Regions from separate parts of the Homo sapiens genome. Here all the other regions are linked to region 3. The links are contacts of gene promoters, found by promoter capture Hi-C in blood cells and fetal thymus (Javierre and others, 2016). All regions are on one chromosome and are shown on one strand. The core of a region is centred on a gene start or on the middle of the fragment in contact, and the rest is flanking DNA. Distances in the headings are between cores, read along the strand shown.

Region 1 (2,700 bases), core at 94-2,593, 1.1 Mb after region 3:
CTCCACCCTAAGACAGGCCCCAGTGTGTGATGTTCCCTTCCCTGTGGCCATGTGTTCCCATTGTTCAACTCTCATTTATGAGTGAGAACATGTGGTGTTTGGTTTTCTGTTCCTGCGTTAGTTAGCTGAGAATGATGGCTTCCAGCTTCATCTATGTCCCTGCAAAGGATATGAACTCATTCTTTTTTATGTCTGCATAGTATTCCATGGTGTATATGTACGACATTTTCTTTATCCAGTCTATCATTGATGGGCATTTTGTTTGGTTCCAAGTGTTTGCTATTGTAAATAGTGCTGCAATAAACATACATGTGCATGTGTCTTTATAGTAGACTGTTTTCTATTCCTTTGGGTATGTACCTAGTAATGGGATTGCTGGGTCAAATGGTATTTCTGGTTCTAGATCCTTGCGAGGCTGTGAAGAAATAGGAACACTTTTACACTGTTGGTGGGAGTGTAAATTAGTTCAACCATTGTGGAAGACAGTCTGGTGATTCCTCAAGGGTCACTTTTTAACTATTACTTTCTCAGACAGCCCTTCCCAGACCATCCCCTTTTCCACTCTCCCACAGTACTCTTTATACAATTTATTTTCTTTATTAAAATGTATTATGTACATGGATTTTCTGCCTTCCCTTCTAGCCTACAGGATTGATGAGAGTGGCAATCTTGTTTGTGTTGTTCCCCAAGATATATCCTCAGGACTTTTCACATGATGAGTTCTCCATAGACGTTTGTGGAATGAAGGAGCACTCAGCCTCTAGGAATGGGTGGAAGTCCAGTAAAGCCACAATTACAACATGGCATGCAGATGTGTATTGGACTTAGAGAAGAGATACACCCAGATGACTGGAGGCTTATTGCTAGAACATGAAGGCTTATGAGGAATCTATTGTCTCTTTCTAAACCAGATAATTGATTTCTCCAAAAAATCAAGAGATTGAGATTATTCAAGAGGCGCTCTTGGCTCAAGTAATTTGCTTTCTGCAGTAATGTCTACTATTTATACTTCTGAAATGAGAAGACCTAACTGGGTTGGTTTGCTATCACCCAATACAAAGCCTCCTTATTGGCCAGAAACTGTTGGCCTTTCTCGTTTGTAATACACCCACCAAGGTCTCAACTCAGTGTCTATGGGGACTAGGCAGGTAACTTAAATGAATGAAGCAAACTGGGTTTGTTGTTATTATGGCAACTTAAGAAGAACTTGTTCTATGTAGACCTACATCTAAGAATATTCTTCACATCTGTAAATATATACACCCTCTCCCATGTTTCCTGAAACATATATCTTTTCAGTCTCTCTTATTTTCCCACTTTTGATAGAACACAGGGCCAAGCAGTATTTCATTTTTGTTTTTATCTTAAGAAAAACAACTGTGTAAGCACAATGGTAAATAGCCATTGAAATTTGGCCTCAGCATTGGAGATTGTGGCAACTAGAGTGCATGTTCAAACTCAAGGACAGCTGCTGAAGCTGCCTCCAGCTGAAACTGCCTTGTGGAAATGCAGTGTCTACATTTATTTAGAGAGAGACTAGAAATCTAGAAGTTCAGGTAAAATCTCTTGATTGTTAATTGCTGGCAATTTTTAAAAACATTAAAAACTGTAAAATAAAATATGCTTGTTAAACAAATATGTCACCCTCCAGATTTGGCCTTTGGACTGCTAGTAGTTGGCCCCTGTCAAATATCATTGTTTCTAGATGAGTCAGTGCCAACGAGATGTGGAAAAGGAGCAGGGCTGATGTCACTGCACCCAGTATGAGCCTTGGCAGCTTTGCAGAAAGAGCCATTGCGACTACTAGACAGACCAGTAGTTCATGAGCATGGGCTGCCGCAGGAGGGTTGTCTAACTGGAGGGGGAATTGGGAGGTGGGGGGAGTCACCAAGTAAATCTTCCCAGAACTACTTAACCTAGAGGGCAAGAAGAGGTATTCCTATTGGAGGAAGGACTACAGCACACAGAGATCTGAGAATTGTGGCACTTCTAGGAAACTTCAAACAGCACCATCTTGTAAGAGTGTAGGGTGATTGTGGGTGTGGTGCAGGGAGGTGGTGTAAGAAGGGGCAGAGGAGGCAGGAAATGAAGCTGTCGGGGGGAATGATGGCCCTGCATAATATTCTTAAGACTTTTAAATAGTGTGCAAAAGTATTTGAAGGATGCACTGAAAGATATTAATCTGGGCCTTGACGTCTTAGTCTCACAGTTGAGGTAGATCCCACCGGCAGATGCCTACAGCATTAACTAGCAGTGGGCTTGAGGCTATTAACATTTTTAAATATATATACATATATATATACTTTATTTCCATAGGTTATTGGGAAACAGGTGGTGTTTGGTTACATAAATAAGTTCTTTAGTGGTGATTTGTGAAATTTTGGTGCACCTATCACCTGAGCAGTATACACTGCACCCTATTTGTAGTCTTTCATCCCTCACCCTCTTCCCACCATTTCCCCTTGAGTCCATTCTGTCATTCTTATGCCGTTGCATCCTATAGCTTAGCTCCCATTTATGAGTGAGAACATACAATGTTTGGTTTTCCATTCCTGAGTTACTTCACTTAGAATATACTTATGATAGAATAATACTCAGCCATAAAAATGAATGAATTAGTGACATTCGCAGTGACCTGGATGAGGCTATTAACATTCATCTGATAGAGCAAACTCTAGGTAAGCAGGAAAGCTCTTGATT
Region 2 (2,700 bases), core at 75-2,574, 1.1 Mb after region 3:
CCAGGGAGGGATTTGGGCATTGACCAAACAGATGAGTTGGATCCAGGAGTGACCGACATGCTAGATTAACCTACCTTGCTCTACAATAATTTTTTGGTTACAGCCCATTAATTGCAATGTCTTATGTTATGTTGTGATTACATTGAGGAATAGCTGATTAATTTTGTTATTTTCTTTAAAAAATGGGCCAGAGGCATGGAATGGGATCATAGGTCCTAATTGCTTAGGCAAAGTTTTCTTGGCATATATAGATGTGCCTCCATCCTGTTTATCTGTTATTAGTTACAAGGAGGAGCCTATTTATTTTCTGGATAAATAGGAGAGTCCCACAGGCCTTCCTGATTAAACCACAAGACAGATGTTGCATGAGAGGGAGAAGAACGGGGAATCAATCAGTGGTTCATTTTGCAGAGAACCAATTCATGATGTAAACATGGGGGAAAGAGCATCAGTAAATTTGTGTCACACAGCATTAATGAGAATGTAATCCTGCCTTCATGGAATTCTGCCTGGGCCACACCTCCGCTCCTCAGAACAAGTGGAGTTGAGAGCCTTGGTTGACAGGCTCAACAGGTGGATGCTTCCCTCTGTTAAGATGATCAGTCTTGATCTGGGGGTGTATTAGTTCATTCTTGCATGGCTATAAAGAAATCCCTGAAACTGGGTAATTTGTAAAGAAAAGAGCTTTAATTGGCTCATGGTTCTTCAGGCTGTACGAGAAGGGTGATGTTGGCATCTTCTCGACTTCTGGGGGGGCCTCAGGAAAGTTGCCATCATGGCAGAAGGCAAAGGGAAAGCAGGCTTGTCCTATGTGACCAGAGCAGGAACAAGAGACACGGGGGAGGTGCTACACACTTTTAAACAACCAGGTCTTAGGAGAACTCGCTATCATGATGATAGCACCTTTGGTGTCATTTCTCCTGGTGTTAAACCATAAGAAAGCACCCCCATGATCCAATCACCTCCCATCAGGCCCCACCTCCAGCCTGGGGATTACATTTTAACATGAGATTTGGGTGGGGACAGTGATCCAGACCATATCAGGGGGCAAGGAAGGTGATGGTGCTCTCACTTCTTATATCGATCCAAGAGCTAGCCAATGAGTGCCTACTATGCATGTGCTCTGTGCTAAGCACTGGCCATACAGCAGTGAGTGCTTTCATGGTGCAGTGGGGTTAAATTCAGATAATAAAATGCATGCACAAATAAACAAGAGCAATGTCAGAAAGCAATCCAAGCAATGCAGATAATTAAAACAGGGTGATGTGATGGTATGTGACTGGAAGTTACTTTCAACTGGGTGTTGAGGTGACGTTTAAATTAGAGATGAGATAAGACTTGGCAAGCATGTGTCTTGCTGGCCTTATTTCCTCCCTCTCTGGATGTTAGCTCTTCCTGGTCTCCTATGTTGGGGGAAGGCTTCCAGATCTTTGAGCCTCTCTGAGCCTCTCTGAGCCTGGCATGTGGGTCCAGCTGACTGTTGACTTTCCCTATGTTTTGTTTTATTTATTTATTTATTTATTTATTTTTATTTATTTTTTTTTTTGAGATGGAGTCTTGCTCTGTCGCCAGGCTGGAGTGCTGTGGTGCAATCTCAGCTCACTGCAACCTCCACCTCCTGGGTTCAAGCAATTCCCCTGCTTCAGCCTCCCAAGTAGCTGAGACTACAGGTACATGCTACCACGCCCCACTAATTTTTTGTATTTTAGTATAGACGGGGTTTCACCATGTTGGCCAGGATGGTCTTGATCTCCTGACCTCGTGATCCACCCACCTCAGCCTCCCAAAGTGCTGGGATTACAGGCGTGAGCCACTGCTCCTGGCCCTTTCCCTCTGTTTTGTAAGGGTTTACCCCACAAGGCTATGTAAGAAGAAAGCAGCATATACTACGAGGTTCCCTAAGATTTAGCCCAGTTTTGGGGTGGTTGCTAACACACAGGAAACAAGAGTGAACAATAAAAGAAGCACTAATGAGTTCCTAAATCAGGTGATGCTTGTTAAGTTCCATTGCCCTGCTTCCCCAATACTTTCGAGTTTTGTAAGGCCGAAGCAGAAATGACTGGGAGACACCATAGATTGGAGCACAATTCTGTATGAGGATTGCCAGTTGACACACCCTCCAGAGAATATAATGTGAATATAGCATTTGGCTATTTTTTACACTTTAAGATTCTTTAGTGTGGAGGTGTGTGTGTGGGGGTGGGGTGGCGGGGGGGCGCTGTCCGATGAGACAGCTCTAAGAGGTCTGACATCTTCCTTTGAGCAAGTAAAAAATTGTTAAGAGAAGAAGGTGGAATGGGGGCTTACCTGGGAATCTTCTAGGTTTATGTAGTATATTAGTTTGCTAGGCCTGCCATAACTATCACAGATTGGTTCATGCAAACAAGAGAAATGTATTTTCTCACAATTCTGGAGTCTAGAAGTCTGAGATTAAGGTGTTGGCAGGGTTGGTTTCTTCTGAGGCCTCTTGCCTTGGTTTGCAGATGACTGTCTTCTCCCTGAGTCTTCACCGTGGTCTTCTCTCTGTGTTTGTCTGTGCCCTGATATCTTCTTATAAGGACACCAGTCATACTGACCAAACAACCTCTTTTTAACTTAATTACTTATTTAAAGACCCTGTTTCCAAATGCAGTCATGTTGTGAGACACTGAAGATTAGGTATTCAATATATGAATTTGGGGTGTGTGTGTGGGGGTGGGG
Region 3 (2,700 bases), core at 116-2,615:
ACAGGATCTATTCAGTTATAAATAATTTTTTAAAAATTTTAATTAACAGATGAAACTACCAGATAAAGTACTTAGACAATGCTCTATGGGTGCAAGAGAAAGAACACTGTATTATGAGTCAGTCCCCTTAGAGTTATGAACCACATAGCACATGGTTGGTACATGCTTGGAAAAGTTACTCTGGGGCTAAGTTCAATTTCCTCACCTGTGAAGTTAAGACCAAATTACCTTACAGTTATATAGGAATTTGTAGTTTTCACAGGGTTTTGGCTTGTTGCCTCTCAGGTGAGTTTTACAGGAACCCCGATAGGCGGGCAGGGAAGGTGTCAGCGCCCTGTTTTATAGTTGTGGATTTCTTAACAGTTAAAGAGATCACATGAAACACTGTAAAAACAGCAAAAGTATCAATACGACTCTAAGATGAGCATGAATCCCCACGTTCCTAGTCCTTCTGGGAGGCTATACTTAAAAAGAGTGACAATCACAATGGCTGGGTGATTAAATAAGTCAATTACTGGAATAAAAGGTTTTTAAAAGACTAAACATAAAAGGAAGCAAATGAAAGTCGACCTTTCTAAAAGCATAGTCAGAATTTAAGTACATGCATAGAAAAATATCTACGGGTATTCACCATAATATTAATAGCGGTTCGCTCCGGGTGCGGGGAATACGGGTGACTTTATCTTTCTTGTTTATCTGCGTTTTCTAAAACAAACATGAACTAGTTGATATTCTAAACAAAAACAAGCCAAAGCAATTACACACTGGCAGACTGCATGCACGTACGTTTGAAAGCTCCAACTGTAACAACAGTGACAACTCCCAGGAACCCACCGGCATTTCAAGGACACAAGCAGGAAGCCCGGAAATCCCTAAAAACAGGTGCTAAAAGCCGCCAGCGCAACCTGACAGCCGCGACCGCCTCTTTTCAACCTGAATTCAGGGGGAGCTGGGAGAGGAGACTAGTCTGGTTTGACAAAAATCAGAATCAGAAATTCCCTCTGGCACCTCCCAGATCTCGAAGAGAAAGTGGGAGGAAAGGCTAGGGGGCGGCAGGCATTCACCATGCATGAATAGGGGGATGGGGAGGACGGAAGCCTCGAACTCGTGGCTCAAATGGTCCCTCCGCCCCCATACCGGACGAAGCGCCGGCGAGGAGCGACGGGCTTGGAAGCCGACCGCCCAGCCAAGGGGCTTTCAGACGGGGCCCAAGGGTGCCCTCCCAACCTGGCGGGCCCCAGCCCCCGTCTTACAGGGTTTCTTGGCATCTTTGATCTTCATGGCGTCGGCCCGAGGGGCGATGGACGGCCTCCGATCCGGGGCACTGAGAGCAGAGGCGGCGACTCCGGAGGTGGCTGGGCCGCGCGGCGAGGCCCGGCCGGTTCCTCCCCTCAGGCCGGGCGGGGCCGGCCTAGGGCGGGGCGGCGGCGCCTGAGGAGATGCCCGGCCCAGGGGGCGGCCCCCCACCCCCGCGAGGGGTGGCCGGGACCGAGCAAGCTGGGGAAGGCCGCCGGCCTCGCCGCTCCGGGGCCCCCCCGCAGCCGCTCCAAACAAAAGGCCCCGGTCCCCGGAGCCGCCGCCACCGCCGCCGCCGCCGCACTGAGAAATAGCCCGCCCAGGCCGAACGCCCACGTGACGCGAGCCCCCCCTCGCTCCGCTTCCGCCCGGCTGCTGGGGATTGTAGTTCTCCGGTTCGTGAGGCCCCGCTCTCTGGCTGTAGTTGTGCAGGTGGACTACAAAGCCCGAGATGCATCGCGGCCCCTCCTCCGAGGCCCCTCAGCTTCCGCAGATCGCCTCAGAGTGGTCCCAGCGAGAAGAGGGCTGGGTCTTAGTCACGCCAGCGAGGAGGCGACCAATGGTGACTGAGATGGGCGTGCTGGGGAAGTCGGGCTCAGACCTCAGCAGGTCGCGGAGAGAAGGGGGAATGAACTCTTCGAGAGGACTGTCATGGCTGTTCGGCCATTCTCAGATTTCCCCTTGAGACAGGAAAGCTGGTCGTCAGGCCATGGAAAGCGCTACAATCAGGGCTCTAGAGCTGTGCTTAAGATAGACCCTTGAGTACATTGGCGGATTAAAATTATTCACAAAGGAATCCTTTTGCTTAATAGAGACACCTTGAATGTTAGGGTCGGAATGATGACAATAGCAGGAATAGAGGTAACATCTATGGAACGCGTTATGTTCATGGGACTCTGCTAAGCACTTTGTGTGATTTACTTAAATTCAGGGGCCTTGTGGACCACGTGCAATTATTCATTTTATTGTCACTCATTTTGAAGATGGGGCACGGTCTGAGGAGTTAAATTGCTTGCTGAGCATTCTTTTTGCCACCGATCCATATTCCCCTGGGGCCCTCCAGCCCAGCTCTCTCCTTCTAAAGGGAAAACTGACTCCCAGAGAAGAAAATTTAGTTGCTCCAGTTCTCACAGTAAAGCCAGGACACCCTTTCCCCTTGCCTCCTAGAGTCTTAGTCCTCCAGCTGGAATGGGAGAAGATGGCATTGGGTATCTTCTCTTGGCCTTCACTTTTGTTGCCCAGTTAGATGGCCAGGAATTCTGTAGTTTTTACAATAGATGGATAGAGGGTTGGCAGTAGAGGATTGGGCATTCCAGTCAAAGAAACCCGCTTACCAAAGAGCCTTACTGCCCCTTCTTGCAGATGATAAGCCAAGGGATGTGAAGAAGGACAGGAGAGGACACA
Region 4 (2,700 bases), core at 181-2,680, 1.2 Mb after region 3:
AAACCTGTGTGTTGGGGAAGGCAACTATCTTATTCATATGTGTCTTCAACACTCAGAATAATCCTGATAATTCTAAAATTTATTCTCCTCAGAATGTGTATCTGTATTTCTTGATCTAACTGAATAACTGAAGGTCCTAACACTATTTGGTCTTATGTAACAAGGTTAGGAACATAAATACCCTCCTCTAGAATCCACTAGTAAAATACCCAAAAAGCTTCTGTTTTATGATGAGATAGAGGAGGAAGAGGTATAAATGATTAAAAATGATTTAAACCAAACTATGTAACAGGCTTTATATTTCATGCTTCACATATATTACTTTATTTCACCCTCTCAAAAATCCTCTAAATTACACATTAGGCCTGCCATGTTATAAAAGGATAAACTGAGGCTCAGAAAGCTGAAACGATGTGCCTAAGGCTACATGCCCACATCTCTCTGGTCAAAAGCCAAAGCTCCTTCTCCTGCAGCAAATCTCAAAGTCTATAGAAGAGTCCTTGTGTGGGATTTGCTGACATCACATGGGCTTCACCCCTCTGCCCTCATCACTAAGTTCTCTTCACATGGTACTGCTTTCCATATTTGAACATAACTTTAAATTCTTCTTTGATAACTTTTCAACAGCCATACACATAGGTGGAAAGCATCATTGGTTTTATGAAAATCCCTGAGGCTAAATTTGGCCCTTAGAGCAAATTGAAAAAGAGATGAAGCCCCTTTCTATGTCTCTGAGGTGGAAATCTATGGGAAGAAACCAGCATAATCTGGCCCAAATCACAAGGAAAACAAGGCATTTCTAACACAGCTACCCGGACAAGAAGAACCTGGGTAAAAAGACTTATGCCAAAACCATAATAATCATATGAGTTCTCTAATCCTAATATTAGGATTATTCTGAGTGTTGAAAACACAATGATTAGTGTGTCTTCAACTAATAATCATTTATTAGTTGATGCTTAATAGATATCTGTTGAATTAATTAATGTATAACACTAGGGATACGTCTTAAGGTTTCTATTTTATTGATGAGGGAATTGAAGCTCAGACAGTTGAAACAGCTTCCTCCAGGCACCATTGCTGAGAAGTGGGATGGCTCAGATTCATATCTGTTCCTGCCTGGCTCTAAAGACCATACTCACTACCACGGCATTAGCCTGTTCTTTATACTGTTTCTTTAGTCCCTGCTGGGGATGGATGTCTTCCTATGGATTAGTTGGGACTGCAGTCTTCTAGTTTTTATTTTTCCCTTACCCCCTCCTGGTTAAAAAGCAAACAAACAAAAAATGTATTCCTCATATTCCTAACCCCTTCATCATTCTCTGACTAAGGGGATAACAGGAGCAGGGGACAGCATGAGGAGATGCGGCAGGAGCCCCAGCCAGCCACTGCATCTGTATCACACTGGAAGCAACTGAGCTTCTAGTGAGTAGCCACACAGTGTTGGGATATCTGGAGAGAGCCAAGGATGACCAATTGCCATGAGAGAGGCTATAGGGTTGAATCAGGTGTGAAATCAGCTCCAAGGAAGCTGAAGTGTGAAAGAGCAGAAATGATGAGCCAATAGATAAAGCCAGTTTCTCATCCCAGAGGAGAAAGGCGCTGATGCCCCAAAGAAGTTGAGGTGCCATGGAGAGAAGAATGGAAGAGGGAATAGGTAATTTTGGAGCTACTCTTTCTAATTTCAGCACCTGTTTCCCTACGATGGGCTACACATATATTTGGGGAAGGAACAAAGGGAGAGAGACAGTAAGAAGGCAGGGAAAGAAAGAAGGAGAAAAAAAGGAAGCAAAGAGGAACAAGTGAGCATTTGCCGCTCTCAAGACACCTGGTCAATAGGAATGCCCTTCTTTATCAGCTGCATGACCTTACATTGGTCACTTAACTTCTCAATGCCTCAGTTTCCTCATCTATAAGATTTCATTGTGTGGGTGAGGATCAAATAAACATTGTCTGCAAAAGAACAAATTATAAAATGCTATGCAAATGCAGTGAACTAATATGATTATTATGGTTTTGGCATAAGTCTTTTTACCCAGGTGGTTCTTGTCTGGGTAGCTGTGTTAGAAATACCTTGCTTTCCTTATAATTTGGGCCAGGTTTGTTGGTTTGTTCTCATAGATTTCCACTCCAGAGACATAGAAAGGGGCTTCATCTCTTTTTCAATTTGCTCTAAGGGTCAAATTTAGCCTCAGGGATTTTCATAAAACCAATGATGCTTTCCACCTATTTACATAGCTATTGAAAAGTTATCGAAGAAGAATTTAAAGTTACATTCTAATATGGAGAGCAGTACCATATGAAGAGAACTTAATGATGAGGGCAGAGGTGTCAAGCCCATGTGATGTCAGCAAATCCCACACAAGGACTCTTCTATAGACTTTGAGATTTGCTGCAGGAGAGGGAGCTTTGGCTTTTGACCAGAGAGATGTGGACATGTAGCCTTAGGCACATCGTTTCAGCTTTCTCGGCCTCAGTTTATCCTCTGTAACATGGAAGGCCAAATGTGTAATTTAGGGGATTATTGAGGGGGTGAAATAAAGTAATATATGTGAAACCTGAAGTATAAAGCCTGTTACATAGTTTGGTTTAAATCATTTTTTAATCATTTATACCTCTTCCTCCTTTACTTCATCATAAAACAGAAGCTTTTTGGGTATTTTACTAGTGAGGATTCAGAAGGCGGGCATTTGTGTTCCT
Region 5 (2,700 bases), core at 108-2,607, 1.0 Mb after region 3:
GCATTCAAAAATGGGCTTCAATACTTATTTTGACATTTTTACATATCAAAGCTAACTCATTTTCATTGTTTCCAAAACTTGAAAGCCTCTAGTTTCTGCATAATTGAGTTTGTGACTAAAAGAAATAGCGTCAGATATGTGTGTCTGAAGGAATTAATGTCCCAAGGGCTTTGTCTTAATAAAAATAATTGAGGTCAGAAGGTAAGAGAAAGTGAATGGAAGGGAAAGGTAAGTAGCAGTGGCTGAGGCTCGAGTTCTGGATGTGCGCAGCAGGAGAAGTGAATGAGGAAATTGAAGAAAGTAAAAGAAAGATGAAGGATGTCTGCATGCAATGGGATTGTTAGAGGCATTTAAAACAAATATCTAGACATTCAAAAAGATGTGCCAATAACTAGCCTAGATTATCTCCTATGAAATGAGATGTTGAAGGTGCTACTAGGGCTACCTTAGTCTTAGAGAGTGGAGACAGATTAATAAGACATTTTACTAATGTGCATTTGAGTAGAGAGAGTAAGACAGCCCTGTTTAAAAGGGCTTATATGTTTTATCTGATTTCTCTCCAAGTCTTCAGTGCTACTAAATGTAATATTCAACAGTAAAAGCACTTTAACAATGTTAGCTGCTATTATTATAAGGCATAGTAATTTTATTACTCCCTCCTTGGATTTTTATAGAATGTTATAACCTCTGAGTCACATAAAATAAAAGCTTACCATTCTTAAGGAAAAAGTAACTTCAAATGAGTATCTGCCACATACCCATGGTTTCAAAGAGTTCTGAAATGAATCCAGCAGATTATGCCTGTTTATATGTGATGCATTGTATAAACATCCTTGACCAGTGTATATTTCTGGAGGTGGATTTCCAGAATTGATAAGTGCCAGCCTTGCTATCTGTATTGTCTTCATTCCTTTTTCTGCCTTTTTTTGCTTGATAAAAAATCACTTAAGCAAATGTATGTGGCTAATTGACTCAAGTAGCACGTTGGAAACTTTTTGTCTTGTTCGTTAAACAAAAAATAAAATACCACAAAACATTTGTGTGTGTGTGTGTGTGTGTGAGTCCATCTGCTAACTTAAAATGTTTCCGACTCTTTGTTTTCTGCCTGTTTAACTTAGATACACAATCCTAAGATAATTTTGGAACAATAAATATGGCTTTTATTGGGAACTTCACTATTGCATGCTTTACAAAACTAATTGGTGTTCTTGTTACCGAGAATCTTTACAGGCCTTTAAGAATCTCTCTACTGTTTATCTTTTCTTTATTCTACTAGTTGAAACTCAATTTTTTAATATGAAACAAATAGACATCTATTCATGCAGCCCAAGATTCCATGTTATTTTTGTCTTGCCTTTTGTATGTCATGTTAACATTAAAATATTGCTGTAACATTTCAGTTTTTGTGTTAGGTGTGCTTATCATGATAGGTGCCCTGTCATATTTTCTTTAATTTAGGGCTTGCCATGACTTTTTAAAGATATTCTTTAGACTTAAAAAATAATTGGCCCAGCGTGGTGCCTCACACCTGTAATCCCGGCACTTTGGGAGGCTGAGGCAGGTGGATCACGAGGTCAAGAGATCAAGACCATCCTGACCAACGTGGTGAAACCCTGTCTCTACTAAAAATACGAAAATTAGCTGCATGTGGGGGTGCGCACCTATAGTCCCAGCTACTCCGGTGGCTGAGGCAGGAGAATCGCTTGAACCCGGGAGGCGGAGGTTGCAGTGAGCCGAGATCATGCCACTGCGCTCCAGCCTGGTGACAGAGTGAGACTCTGTCTCAAAAAGTAATAATAACAATAATTGAGCCTATTGATATAAAAAGACTTTTAGACAGCCAGTGACTTAATATTCTTACAGTATTAGAGTCAACTATATTTTTTTTCCTTGAATACCATGCCTTATTGGAGGCCCATTATACTGGGGGTTTGTTTCTTCAATCCTTCATAACCACATTTGAATTCAGAGTGGATGCTTTAATGCCTGTAGGTTAGCTGCTGAATCAAAGCTTCAAACAGAAGTTAAAGAAGGAAAAGAAACTTCAAGCAAATTGGAAAAAGAAACTTGTAAGAAATTACACCCTATTCTATATGTGTCTTCTAAATCTACTCCAGAGACCCAGTGCCCTCAACAGTAAAGACTTGTCTTTAATAAGAGTACGGTGCCACTTGCCTCAAAAGTTACTATGGTGCTTAAGATTGTCTTGATCTGACATATATCACCTTCTGGGTTATTTACTCATTGTGCCAGGACCTGGCATTTTCATGTGCCTTTGACCAAGTGTTCAGAATTTGCTTGACTCTAACCTGGAGAGCTTCTTAAGTGATGCCCCTTCATGGAGCTTCTATGACAGTGAATAAACTATTAATTGAAGGAAAATGTTATAATTAATGTATCTATTTGCTGCATTGTATATGGATTAAATGATAAAAAACAAGTAATCTACCCTCAGAGCCATGTATTTGAGAATGCTTCAATCATATTTTCCTATGTACTTTTTTTTATAAACTTAGTTTTAGACTATGTTGTAAAAATGGGAAGGTTGTAAACTATGTTGTAAAAATAGGAAATGTGGCTTAAAATATATACATTATATTGTTTCAGGATTTTGTCAGTGTTTAAAGAACCAATGTTCATCTTTGTATTTATATACATGATTTAAATTTTGTCTAAAATTTTAAATAAAACTGCAGTGAT

What was found. Contacts are between HindIII fragments. The CHiCAGO score rates a contact against its expected background, and 5 or more counts as called.
Region 1: a contact is called between a fragment that was not itself captured here and the fragment with the promoter of PANK3 in region 3, in 1 of 17 cell types (naive CD8 T cells). The highest score is 5.4, in naive CD8 T cells.
Region 2: a fragment that was not itself captured here is called in contact with the fragment with the promoter of PANK3 in region 3 in 1 of 17 cell types (naive CD8 T cells); the score reaches 5.6 in naive CD8 T cells.
Region 4: a contact is called between a fragment that was not itself captured here and the fragment with the promoter of PANK3 in region 3, in 1 of 17 cell types (naive CD8 T cells). The highest score is 5.7, in naive CD8 T cells.
Region 5: a fragment that was not itself captured here is called in contact with the fragment with the promoter of PANK3 in region 3 in 4 of 17 cell types (erythroblasts, total CD4 T cells, M2 macrophages and 1 more); the score reaches 8.1 in erythroblasts.

The regions. Positions count from the first base shown.
Region 1 is chr5:169,628,321-169,631,020 of GRCh38, forward strand. No RefSeq gene overlaps it. Among named protein-coding and RNA genes, the nearest start is that of DOCK2, 7.6 kb to the right of the region's middle. The HindIII fragment of the contact is 3,172 bases long and covers 1-2,700 here.
Region 2 is chr5:169,690,329-169,693,028 of GRCh38, forward strand. The region is part of intron 9 of DOCK2 (dedicator of cytokinesis 2); the gene reads left to right. Among named protein-coding and RNA genes, the nearest start is that of DOCK2, 54 kb to the left of the region's middle. The HindIII fragment of the contact is 2,807 bases long and covers 1-2,700 here.
Region 3 is chr5:168,578,003-168,580,702 of GRCh38, forward strand. It overlaps PANK3 (pantothenate kinase 3), which reads right to left and starts at 1,366. Exons shown (of 7, transcript NM_024594.4): 1 at 1,254-1,366. The coding sequence starts at 1,281. RefSeq lists enhancers at 1,094-1,163, 1,254-1,797 and a silencer at 1,314-1,643. The HindIII fragment of the contact is 14,951 bases long and covers 1-2,700 here.
Region 4 is chr5:169,748,541-169,751,240 of GRCh38, forward strand. All of the region lies in intron 23 of DOCK2 (dedicator of cytokinesis 2), which reads left to right. Among named protein-coding and RNA genes, the nearest start is that of DOCK2, 110 kb to the left of the region's middle. The HindIII fragment of the contact is 2,431 bases long and covers 216-2,646 here.
Region 5 is chr5:169,602,068-169,604,767 of GRCh38, forward strand. SPDL1 (spindle apparatus coiled-coil protein 1) reads left to right here. Exons shown (of 12, transcript NM_017785.5): 12 at 1,993-2,700. The coding sequence ends at 2,140. Among named protein-coding and RNA genes, the nearest start is that of SPDL1, 20 kb to the left of the region's middle. The HindIII fragment of the contact is 1,303 bases long and covers 707-2,009 here.